Linked DNA regions of Homo sapiens: region 1 is linked to region 2. The links are contacts of gene promoters, found by promoter capture Hi-C in human tissues and cell types (Jung and others, 2019). All regions are on one chromosome and are shown on one strand. Each heading gives the region's core, a stretch centred on a gene start or on the middle of the fragment in contact. The rest is flanking DNA. Distances are from core to core; before and after follow the strand shown. Region 1 overlaps FARS2 (phenylalanyl-tRNA synthetase 2, mitochondrial). Region 2 holds the start of F13A1 (coagulation factor XIII A chain).

Region 1 (5,114 bases), core at 1,958-4,457, 870 kb before region 2:
GAAAATAATGTGACCAGATTGATATTTGGGTATCTGGCATTACTGTGGAGTGTGAGTGGAAGAAATGCAAGTTCAAAGACAAGGAGAACAGGCGAATTGTCTAGGCGCTAAATGATGAGGGCAGGAGCTGAAGCAGCAGTAGCAGTGGGCAGAGAGGGGGCCAGATTGTGTGCCTTTTAAGAGTTATCACCAGGCTTTGTGTGCAAGGGGACCACCTTCTTGGCATGAGGAAAAGGTCATGGATTGAAGGAGCAGATTAGTTCTGATTGCAGCTTTCCTAAGCATAATTGACACACAGAACCTTTGAGCAATACTCTGCCACTGATACCCTCCAAAGAATTGTAGGTGAATTCCACAGCATGCTTTTTACCCCCATTCTCTACCTTAAGCTGCCTAAATCATAATCACTAGTATAACCTCTTCCTCATGGTGGAGACATTTTTAAAGAACATTATCCAGGGAAGTGGAAACTGTTAGGTGAAGGCTTTTGTTACCTAAGAAGGCAAAATGTACAAATGCTACTCATCATCCCTACCTTATCCTCAATAAATGTTTATTGTGTTTTTGACCCACATTTGGTTGAAAACAGTCCATGTAGAAGTGAACCTGTGTAGTTTATTGAGGATAAAACAATAAATGTTTACTGAGGATAAGGTAGGGAGGCTGAGTAGCATTTGTAAGAAAGGTAGATGCTTGGCAAGTGAAGATGAACAAGGCACAACTGCCCTTAAGGATTGAATGGTTTGATGAGGGATGCAGTCTCACAAATAGCCCCATAAGCAGATATGGTATCAGGCTTGGAGGCAAGTGGCCTGCAGAATCAGGGAGGTTATCCCAGAAGAATTACCTTGAAGAGTGTTCTTTTACCTTCGTCTTGAAGAATGCATAGGCCTTTGCCAGCACAATAGGAAGGCAGGGCCTTCTAGGCAGATGGGATAGCACATTCAAAGATACAGAGTTTCGAAAGATCCAGAATGTTTATTTGAGGACAAAGAATCGCAGTGTGGTTGGGGTAGCCTAGGGGACAGTGAGAGTGCTGGTGGGAGGTAGATCCAGAGAATCCTGGCATGTGAGGCTTTATACACAAAGCTAAAGGAGTGTGGACTCTGTGCTGTTGTTATTGCAGCCAGTAGAGACGTATTTGGGAAGGGAAGGCGATGAGAAAGTGGAAGAAGGGAGTCCGCCTCTTCATGTATTGTATACAATTATTTTATAGGTCATGCATTTATTTGGGGTGTGAGTGTGCCTGTGAGTGTGTACACTCTCCCTCCCACTGCTTTCATGTCTGTTTTTCTGTATCCTTTAAGTTTTTTAATGCAAATACAAATATGTATTCTTTTTCTTTCTTCTTAAAAACCAAAGCAGCACACATTTTTTCTGTTTTTTTTTTTTCACTTACAGTGTATTTTAGAGATGTTTGCACGTTAGAAAGCATTCCCATTTCTATTCACAGCTGCATGGTATTGCATTGTGTGTATGAACCATAATGTATTTAATCAGTGCTCCCTTGATGGGCATTTTGTGTGTTTCCCTCTTTTGCTATTAAAAACAATGTTTCAGTGAATAACTATGTACATGTGTCACATTTTGCGTGCAAGTACATTTATAGGATTTATTTCTTGAAGTGGAATTGCTAAATCACACAGTATATGCATTTATAATTCTTATAGACATCATGCCTATTAAGTAGACCTGGGGTGAAGCAGTCATATCTGATATGTGGATTGAATGAGGGTAAGCAGTGAGCAAAATGGAGGATGGTGCTAAGTTAGCCTTGGTGACTCATGATGCCATTTCACAAGATGGAGACAGAGAAGCTATGTAGGTTGCACCCAAGCTTTTGAACTCTTAAGTCTGAAGTGTCTATAAGACATCTAGGTAGGAACATCTAGGAGATAGTTGCACGTGAAAGATCGGAGAGCGTAAGAGAGCTCTGTAAGAGATTTTGAATTCATCAGTGAAGTTAAAAGTCACTGGCCGGGTGCCGTGGCTCACGCCTGTAATCCTAGCATTTTGGGAGGCCGAGGCGGGCAGATCACTTGAGGTCAGGAGTTCCAGACCAACCTGGCCAACATGGTGAAACCCCATCTTTACTACAAATGCAAAAATTAGCTGGGTGTGTTGGTGGGCACCTGTAATACCAGCTACTCGGGAGGCTGAGGCAGGAGAATCGCTTGAACCTGGGAGGCAGAGGTTGCAGTGAGCCAAGACTTTGCCACTGCACTCCAGCCTGGCTGACAGAGTGAGTAAGACTCCATCTCAAAAAAAAAAAAAAGAAAAAAAAGAAAAAGAAAACTCATAGACTTAAGATTTTTTATATATGTGTATATATGAAAATTATTATAAAGAAAGAAGAGAAAGGCCAAAAAGTATAAGGTTTCAGAAAAATAAATATTCTCCTGGGTTCCTTTATCTATTAAATTTACTAGAATTCATTGGCATAAGGCAAAAGTTCTCATGTGGTTCAGGTCTTTATTTGACTTATTCATTCATTGTTCATGCATTCATTCATTTCAATATTTGCTGAATACCTGGTAGTACAGATTGCATATCTCTTATGTTAAATGCTTGGGACAAGAAATGTTTTAGGTTTTGGATTTTGTGTGTGTGTGTTTTGGAATATTTGCATTATACTTACTGATTTAGCATTCGTAATCCGAAAACTCGAAATCAGAAATGTTCCAATGAGCATTTCCTTTGAGCATCATGTGGGCCCTCAAAAAGTTTTGGATTTTGGAGCATTTAAGATTTCAGGTTTTTCAGATTTGAGATACTCAAGCTGTACCAATTAATGACGAAAATATGGTCATCCCTTGGTATACATGTGGGATTGATTCCAGGACTCCTGAGTATACCAAAATCTGCACATACTCAAGTCCTGCACTTCCCTGAGGAACCTGTGTGTATGAAAAGTTGGCCCTCTGTATACATGGGTTTTGCATCCTGCAAATACTGTATTTTTGACCCACAGTTGGTTAAAAACAATCCGTGTAGAAGTGAACCTGTGTAGTTCCAATCTTTGTTGTTCAAGGGTCAACTGTATGAGGCTACAGATGGCCCCTGCCCTCCTGCAGCTCACAGTCAGGTGGGAAATATGGTGAGGTAAATGTGTAATGTCAGTGTGTGCTGACACCTGCTGTGAGGAGAGCAGTACATTGCACTGTGGGAAGAGTAGGAGGTGGCATCTAGTGTGACTTGGGGAAGCTTTCAGAAAGGCCTCCTACTCTGAGATGTGAGGAATGAGTAAGGGTTGGTGGTAACAGGGAGTGGGGGAGGGGAAGCGTGATGTGGGCTGCAGGGGCAAACTAGTTTGGTAAGGGGCCAAGTGGTAGGCATTTGGGTTTGGGGCGGCCTTGGTCTCCTGCTCCAGCTCCCCCATGCCGTTGTAGTGTGAAGGTCGCGGTGGCCATCGGTGAAGTGTGGCCGGGTTCCAATAACTCCTTATTTACGGATACAGAAAATTTCCCCTGATTTCCATGCATCATGAATAGTATTCTTCTTTTGATGTTTTTCAACCATTTAAAAAGGTAAAATTCATTCCTAGCTTGTAGGCCTTACAAAAACCAGAGGGTTAGGGATCCAGACTTGGCGTGTGGGAGGTAGTGTGCCGCCTGTTAGTCCAGGCACAAGGGACAGCCTGTTCAAAGGTTGAGGCGGGAGAAGCACACAGGGGCTTCTCTGAGAACCTCTTCTTAGGGGTCTCCTTGCCTCCAGGGTTTCCCTCCTCCAGTCTGCCCTGCTTGGAATCCCTGGATACATGCCTTGGGCTGTCTCTTTCATTATTGCCGTGCCTCTCTGGAAAATCTTCCGTGATTCTCCATGAAGGTATTCAGGGTCCTCCCCTCATCTTCTGCTTTGTTTGCCTCAGCCTCCTTTCATGAAGATTTGGGAAAAATCCTGCTCCACTGACAGGAATCTAGTATTTTAGATACGATTGGAGGTGCTGTAAACACTTCAGGGTTTTCTAGGCCACTGCTCATTCCTATGTATGCACACATAGTTTGCTTTCATTCTGAACTTTTTGTATATTTCCTGGAAAAGTTACTTTGGGATTAATTTACATATAAAAGTCCTATATTTTCATCTTATTTTTATCCTGCCACTTCAGGTATAGGGAAATAAATGAAAAAGTCTTCAAATGTTGACTTCTAAGGCTTTATTACCTCAGACAGCTTCATTAGGTTTGTGGAAATCTAGTGTGCTTTGAAGGAATTAATCTAGCCTTACTTGCAATCTGTATGTGTTTACATAGAATGAACAAACATTGCATTACGTTTCATGAAAATTCAATTATTCTTGTCTCCAGGAAACATGTTCTGCTTAGTATTTAATTCTCAAGTATGTCAAGGTGATGGTTCTTGAACTGTCGTAAGAATTGGGGAGCTGGGGCTCACTGCTCATTTCCATAATCAATGGAGAAATAGCCAGTGGAGACTTTTTAATCACTAAGGTCCTCATGTAACCCATGTCTGAGGTTACAGGGGACATTGGGGACATCAGTCTCAGTGGCATAAGGCTAATATAAAATCCTCTCTAGATTTTTGTTAGAATGAAGAGAAGTAACATTAAGGATGATACTCTACATAATTAATACTTTCTTTTGGAGTTTATTATGCATATGTATGGTTTATTCAGCAGGCATTTTTTGAGATTCTATTGTTAACGAGGTACAGCAAGAGATGGAAAGGTAACAATCAGCTGGTATTAGTGTCTGTTGTGATTGGTTGGACCCTATTTAACTGGCAAGGATCAGTTTAAATGCTTTTATTCTTGAAACATTCCTTGCAAAGTCCGACAACTCATTTCCCACTGTATTGTTACTACAGTGAAGTGATTTTTTGGAAACACCTATCACATATCATCACCATGTCTTTTATAGTTACACGATAGTTAACTAAACTTATCCTTTTCTTCCACAAGAGTCTAACCTCCTTGAAGGTAGGACCATGCTTAATTCCTACTGGTTAGTGGCTGCAGTATTATACTGAAGAAACGGTAAGTCCGGTTTCAGCAGGCCGAGATGTGGAGGAGACGGTTTGGGGTCCAGAGTGGCCTAAGGGAATTATTTGAATCAGGCCAAGAGCATGAGTTTACTTCGAGTCTTTGAGGAGTGA
Region 2 (5,283 bases), core at 476-2,975:
TATTCAAAGAAATTTAAAAATTAAAAGATTTTTGGAGACCCAGATTCCCCCACCCTCCATAATCCTACAGCAGCATCTTCGCAAGAAATGTTTCCTGTTATATGCATGTGCTGTATCTATGTTCATTTCATACAGATTTATGAGATTATAAGTCACTTTTAAGAATAAACGCACACAACCATGTCCAGACAAATGTTGTCTTCTAAAGCGTTTACATTTGCAATTTAATTCAACCAATATTTATTGAGGGCCTATGACATGCCAGGCTGTGATCTAGGTACATGGGATACATCAGAGAACAAAACAGAATGTTTGCTCTGATAGATTATAGTCTGATAGGGTTAGGGTGGAGCCCAAGAAGAGCCATAAGTAAATCCACTTAGGGGTGAGGAGGTAGGAACTGCTTTGGAAATTGAGCCACATGGAGGAGGATAAGGAGGTGGAGAGGTTGGGCATGCAATTTTCAATAGGGCTATCAATAGGCTTAAGAAGTCAGGGTTGCCAACATTTCCCATTCCCCAAGCCTGCTTCCCCTTCCCTTGGAGCTTGTGCAGGCACTGAGCCAGTTTAAACAACACACACCTGACGGTCAGTGCCCAGTAAGTACTTGTTGACCAAATGACCAAATGAAGGGGGACTTTGTTTCTGGGCCCAGTGAAGGTTCCCCCTTGATCCCCTGGATTACCCAGTCATGACTCCTGGAGACTTGGCTATTTTCAAAAACCAGGCACACCCCCAAGAGGTGAAGAGTCCCCATTATAGAGGCCACCAGAGTAGAGAGATGGTTCCAGAGACATGTGGAGCACTAACAACATGCTGGAGAAAAGACAACCACGCCTAAGGTGTCTGGTCTGAGAAGGAGACAGGAGTGTTTGGATGCATAAGGTGTGAATGGGTATCCATAAGTATAGATAAATATATTTACAGTCATTGGTGAGCTGACGGGGGAAGGGAGGGAGAAGAGCGAAAAAGGGTTAATGATAGGGAGAAGGCTGCGAGAGCCATCCTCTAGTGAGAAATACCGAAGGTAGGCTGCGGCATTGCCAGGGGTGCAGAACAGTGTGGCGCGCTGTCGGGAGACACAGTGCTAAGGGGGAGAAGGGGGGAGCCCCAGGTGCACGCCTGGCTGGGTGAGTGCGGCGGGCAGGAGCCCTCGCTTCTGGGCGGGTCTAAGGAGGAGAAGTGGCTCGAGTTCAGCTCCAAATTGGGACGGAGGCAGGCGATGCGCAGGAGTGGGGAGGCGCGCAGGAGTGGGGAGCCAAGCCGGCGGGGTTCCAGTCTAGCAGGCTGTTCTCACTTGGCCCCACTCCCTCCACCTTTTGTGTTCCAGCTCCATAATCTGCTCCCTGAGGAAAGGGGGCTCGTCCCTTGGGGAAGCACCTCCAACTCCCCCATCCCCATTTGGTGGCATTCTAAGCAAGCAACGGCTTCGGGAGAGCTGCCTCGAGAGCCTGAGAGAAGTCCCGCTTAGAAGCTGGGCTGGGCAGGTGCGGAGTTGGGGGCGGGAAGCCAGGATTGGGCAAGTGGAGCTGCCTGTGACCGGCGCCACAGGGCCCAGAGCAAGCCGCTTGCTGGTTCAACCAGGAAACCGAGGTGCAGAAGGTGGACGCAGCGGGCCCTGGCTCATAGGGTGCAGGGTCGGTGGCTTACCTGCAGGCGCTCCCCTCCAGAGGTGCCCTCGCGTGGGCTTGCTCTGTGCGCCTCGGGGACTTCCTCAAACGGACTCGGGAAAGACAAGACAGTTGGCTCTTAAATAACTTCCTAAGAGGAGCCCTCACCCTCCTCCCCTGTCCCACAGGGTTTTCTCCTCCCCCTTCTCCACAGCTGGAGCCAGTAGGGGAGCTCAGAGGATTTTCTATTTACTTCATCTGGCCTGTTATCCCGGCAGGTGCGCCCTTCTCTCCCACTTGCCCCTCTGACTCCCAATTTCCCATTCCCACTTCTCCTCCCCATCCCCATCCCTAGATCTGCCCTCCCCACCGCAACCAGTTGCTGGGAGTACCAGGCAAGGGGCCCTGCAGTGCCAGGAAGTCCCCACCCGTCCCCTTTGGTCAGAGGGTCTGGGAGGGTTTCCTTTACAAAGGAATGCTTTTGCCTGGCAGGTCAGCTGCTACTGTGGCTTGGCAGGAGGGGGGTCTGCCCTCCCACAGACAGGTCACACAGACAGTTGTGACCATGCATGCAGTGAGAGCAACGTGTCCCTCCTGTGCAAATAAGGCATGGTCTGCATTCCTGAATCATCCCAGAGCCACAGCCACCGCCTAACCACAAGACTTCCTGCAGGAATGGGATGCCTAGCCCCAAGGAAGATGAGTAAACATCTTTAATAATGCCATGCAGATTAGAAAATAACACTTGGTTTTCTCTGAAAATCATTTTAGTGCATGTTCAAAAATTAGAAAATTTTCCCCCTAAAATTTTAATTTTTTTCTTTTACTCTTTCTTTCTTTCTTTCTTTCATCTTTCTATCTTTCAGATGAAGTCTTGCTCTGTTGCAAAGGCTGGAGTGCAACCTCCACCTCCCGGGTTCAAGTGATTCTTCTGCCTCAGCCTCCCAAGTAGCTGGAACTACAGGTGCATGCCACCATGCCCGCCTAATTTTTGTATTTTTAGTAGAGATGGGGCTTTACCATGTTGGCCAGGCTGGTCTCGAACTTCTGACCTCAGGTGATCCACCCTCCTTGGCTTCCCAAAGTGTTGGGATTACAGGCGTGAGCCACCGCACCCAGTCAAACATGGCTATTTCTAACCTTCTTTACTGTCTTCAAATTTCTGACCCTGCCACTCAATCTCCCAATGTTATAAAGAAGAAAAAAAAAGATGCCATTGGTTAGAAATTCTCTCAATTTTCTGCTACCAATCTATGAACCTGCCTGCAACCTTATCTATCTTTTCCTCTTTCTTCTTGTTACTGAAGTTGGAAAGGTCCCTCCTCCCTCTGCATCTCCAAACCAGGCTTCTGCGTTGCCTTGTTCTCCGGGGCTTTGCTGTGACTCTTACGTACTCTTCCTCTTGCAGCTTCAAGCTCCTGCTTGCTAATAGTGGGTCTTCTCAGCATTCATGCAATTTCAGGTCTCTTCAGTATTTTTTTAAAAACCTCCCCCAACCTATGTCCCCACTCCTGCTGTTACTCCTCCTCTCCTCCCCTTCATCACTAAGTATCTGCCATCTGGCTTCCGCCTCATCATTCTACTGAAAGTGGAGGTCACGGTCTCCAAGGCCTGTGCTCAGGCCAAAAGACAGGATTCAGTTCTTATTTACCTGACCTTTTGGAAGCATTGAACTCTGTCTTTGAAGGTATTTTTCCTAGGCCTCCTTGACATTGAACACTCTGTGGTTTCCTCCAGTGCAGCGCAATATTCCTTGATTGTCTGAGGAACTCCCATAGTTTTCAAATTCCATCTATATCCTGACACCTCCCAAATCTGGGTCTTTAGCCAAGATCTTTTCCAGAATTGCAGATTCCCGTATCTAAGTGCCTACTGGCTATCCTCATTTGTCACATCCCAGTGACAACACACGCTCATCATGTCTAACATGAGATGTATCACTTTCCTGGAAAACCTGGTGCATCTCAGGAGTTCCCTACCTCAATGAATACCATCACTTTGCACGCAGGTGGTACACCAGACACATGGGCATCATTCTTGAGGCTTCCTTGTTTCTCTCCCTCAATCATCAAATCCGATCCTTGAGCAAATATTTTCTATCCTACCTCTTAAACAGCCCTTGAATCTACCCGTGTATGTACCCCTTTCCAGTCCATTCTCTACAGTGCAGTCAGAATGAGCATTTCAGGGCTAAAATCCGAAATCAAATTATTTGCACAAAGCCCTTATATGGCTACTTCTCTTTGCTTTTTGGATAAATTGCAAGCTGAAACTGACAAGGCCTATACAAGCTGGACCCTGCCTCTAGCACTGCTCTTTCCCTCAGCATCCATACAATTTGAGGTCTCCAGTATTTTTAAAAAACCTTCCCCCAACACCAATCTACCCTCCCTGCCTTCCACTGTTGTTTCTCCTCTCCTCCTCTTCATCACTAAGCTTCTGCCATTTGGCTTCCATCTTTCTTCCCTATCATCTTCCTCTGCCATCTTTCTTCCCTGCCCAGTCTCCCTCCACTGACTCCCCAGTTGTCTTGCAAGGAGTTTGCCTTGTTGTAGTGCTCCTCACACTGCATGATCATTTTCTGTTTCCTTGGCTGTACCTGCACTAGAGTACAAAAAGGTAGGGACTCCAGCCAGAGTTCCCTGGAGAGAGGCTGCTGACCACTTAACTATCCAAAGGCCGTCTTTGCCACATCCCTTGCTGAGTGCTAGAGAAAGACCCTAAAGATGTCTAGCACTGCTTCCCCTCAGCATTCATACAATTTCAGGTCTCCTCAGTATTTTTAAACCCTCCCCCAATCCTTAACGATCATATTCTGGTAGTTCTCCTGGCAAACATCAAATCTGAGTGTCTAGAATTCCAAGATACCCTCATCCATGTGGGGTTGGAGGATGAGCAGCCACCCTTGCACCCTTCAGATGAGGTTACGCAGATGCCAGGTACCCCTGGGACTTGGGGTTGAGTTGTGCATTCAGAACAGGATTGTCACCCTCACAACCACCTCCACGGTGTCACTTTTGGCCTTAGACTAATTATTGGCTTTGTGAACATACACACACAGTGGTTGGCTTTCTGACTCCCCCAAACCACTAACCTCAAGAGCATCATAAATGCAATGGCTTTCCTTGTGCTAAACAAAGTCGATAAAAATGTGTCTAAGCCACCAAGCCCTAGAATGCGGTTGAAGCCCATTCATTTTACAGGGTATTCCTCATGGTTATATGGCTGAGACATCAGAACAAAGGTTTCTGGTCACACAGTGAATCTTGAACTGTGCTAGGGATGCAACTTCCACAGGTGCATAGGCTCTGAGGTCCTTAAGGATGGGATGGTGTCTTTTATTTCTGAATGCCCCCTGCCTGGCATGGAAGTGGAGCCATGTAAATATTTAAGGCATGTAACAGACGGGGTTCATCCAGGAAAACAAAAACCACTTTAGGTCTTTCTAAAAGAAGGAATTTAAGGCAGGGGATTGGTTACACAGGTGAGAGAAGAGACAAGAAACCAAACACGAGAAGGTGAATCAACTCCACAATTAGCAACAGCAGAGAGGAGTTGGTGTCGTTGTAGCGGGAGGACTGAGGGTAGGTCAGGCACTGGAACCGTGTGGTCCTGTCTGGTGGGAGCTTTAGATCCCATAATTCCAAGAAACACTGTCTGAGGTCAAGAGGGA

Evidence for each region. Contacts are between HindIII fragments. The study calls those that stand out against the background at their distance.
Region 1: a contact is called between a fragment that was not itself captured here and the fragment with the promoter of F13A1 in region 2, in 1 of the 25 tissues and cell types used here (dorsolateral prefrontal cortex).

Annotation. Positions count from the first base shown.
Region 1 is chr6:5,447,092-5,452,205 of GRCh38, forward strand. All of the region lies in intron 4 of FARS2 (phenylalanyl-tRNA synthetase 2, mitochondrial), which reads left to right. Among named protein-coding and RNA genes, the nearest start is that of FARS2-AS1, 8.4 kb to the right of the region's middle. The HindIII fragment of the contact is 5,037 bases long and covers 690-5,114 here.
Region 2 is chr6:6,318,937-6,324,219 of GRCh38, forward strand. It overlaps F13A1 (coagulation factor XIII A chain), which reads right to left and starts at 1,726. Exons shown (of 15, transcript NM_000129.4): 1 at 1,651-1,726. The region is part of intron 1 of LOC124901253 (a long non-coding RNA gene); the gene reads left to right. The HindIII fragment of the contact is 8,313 bases long and covers 1-4,991 here.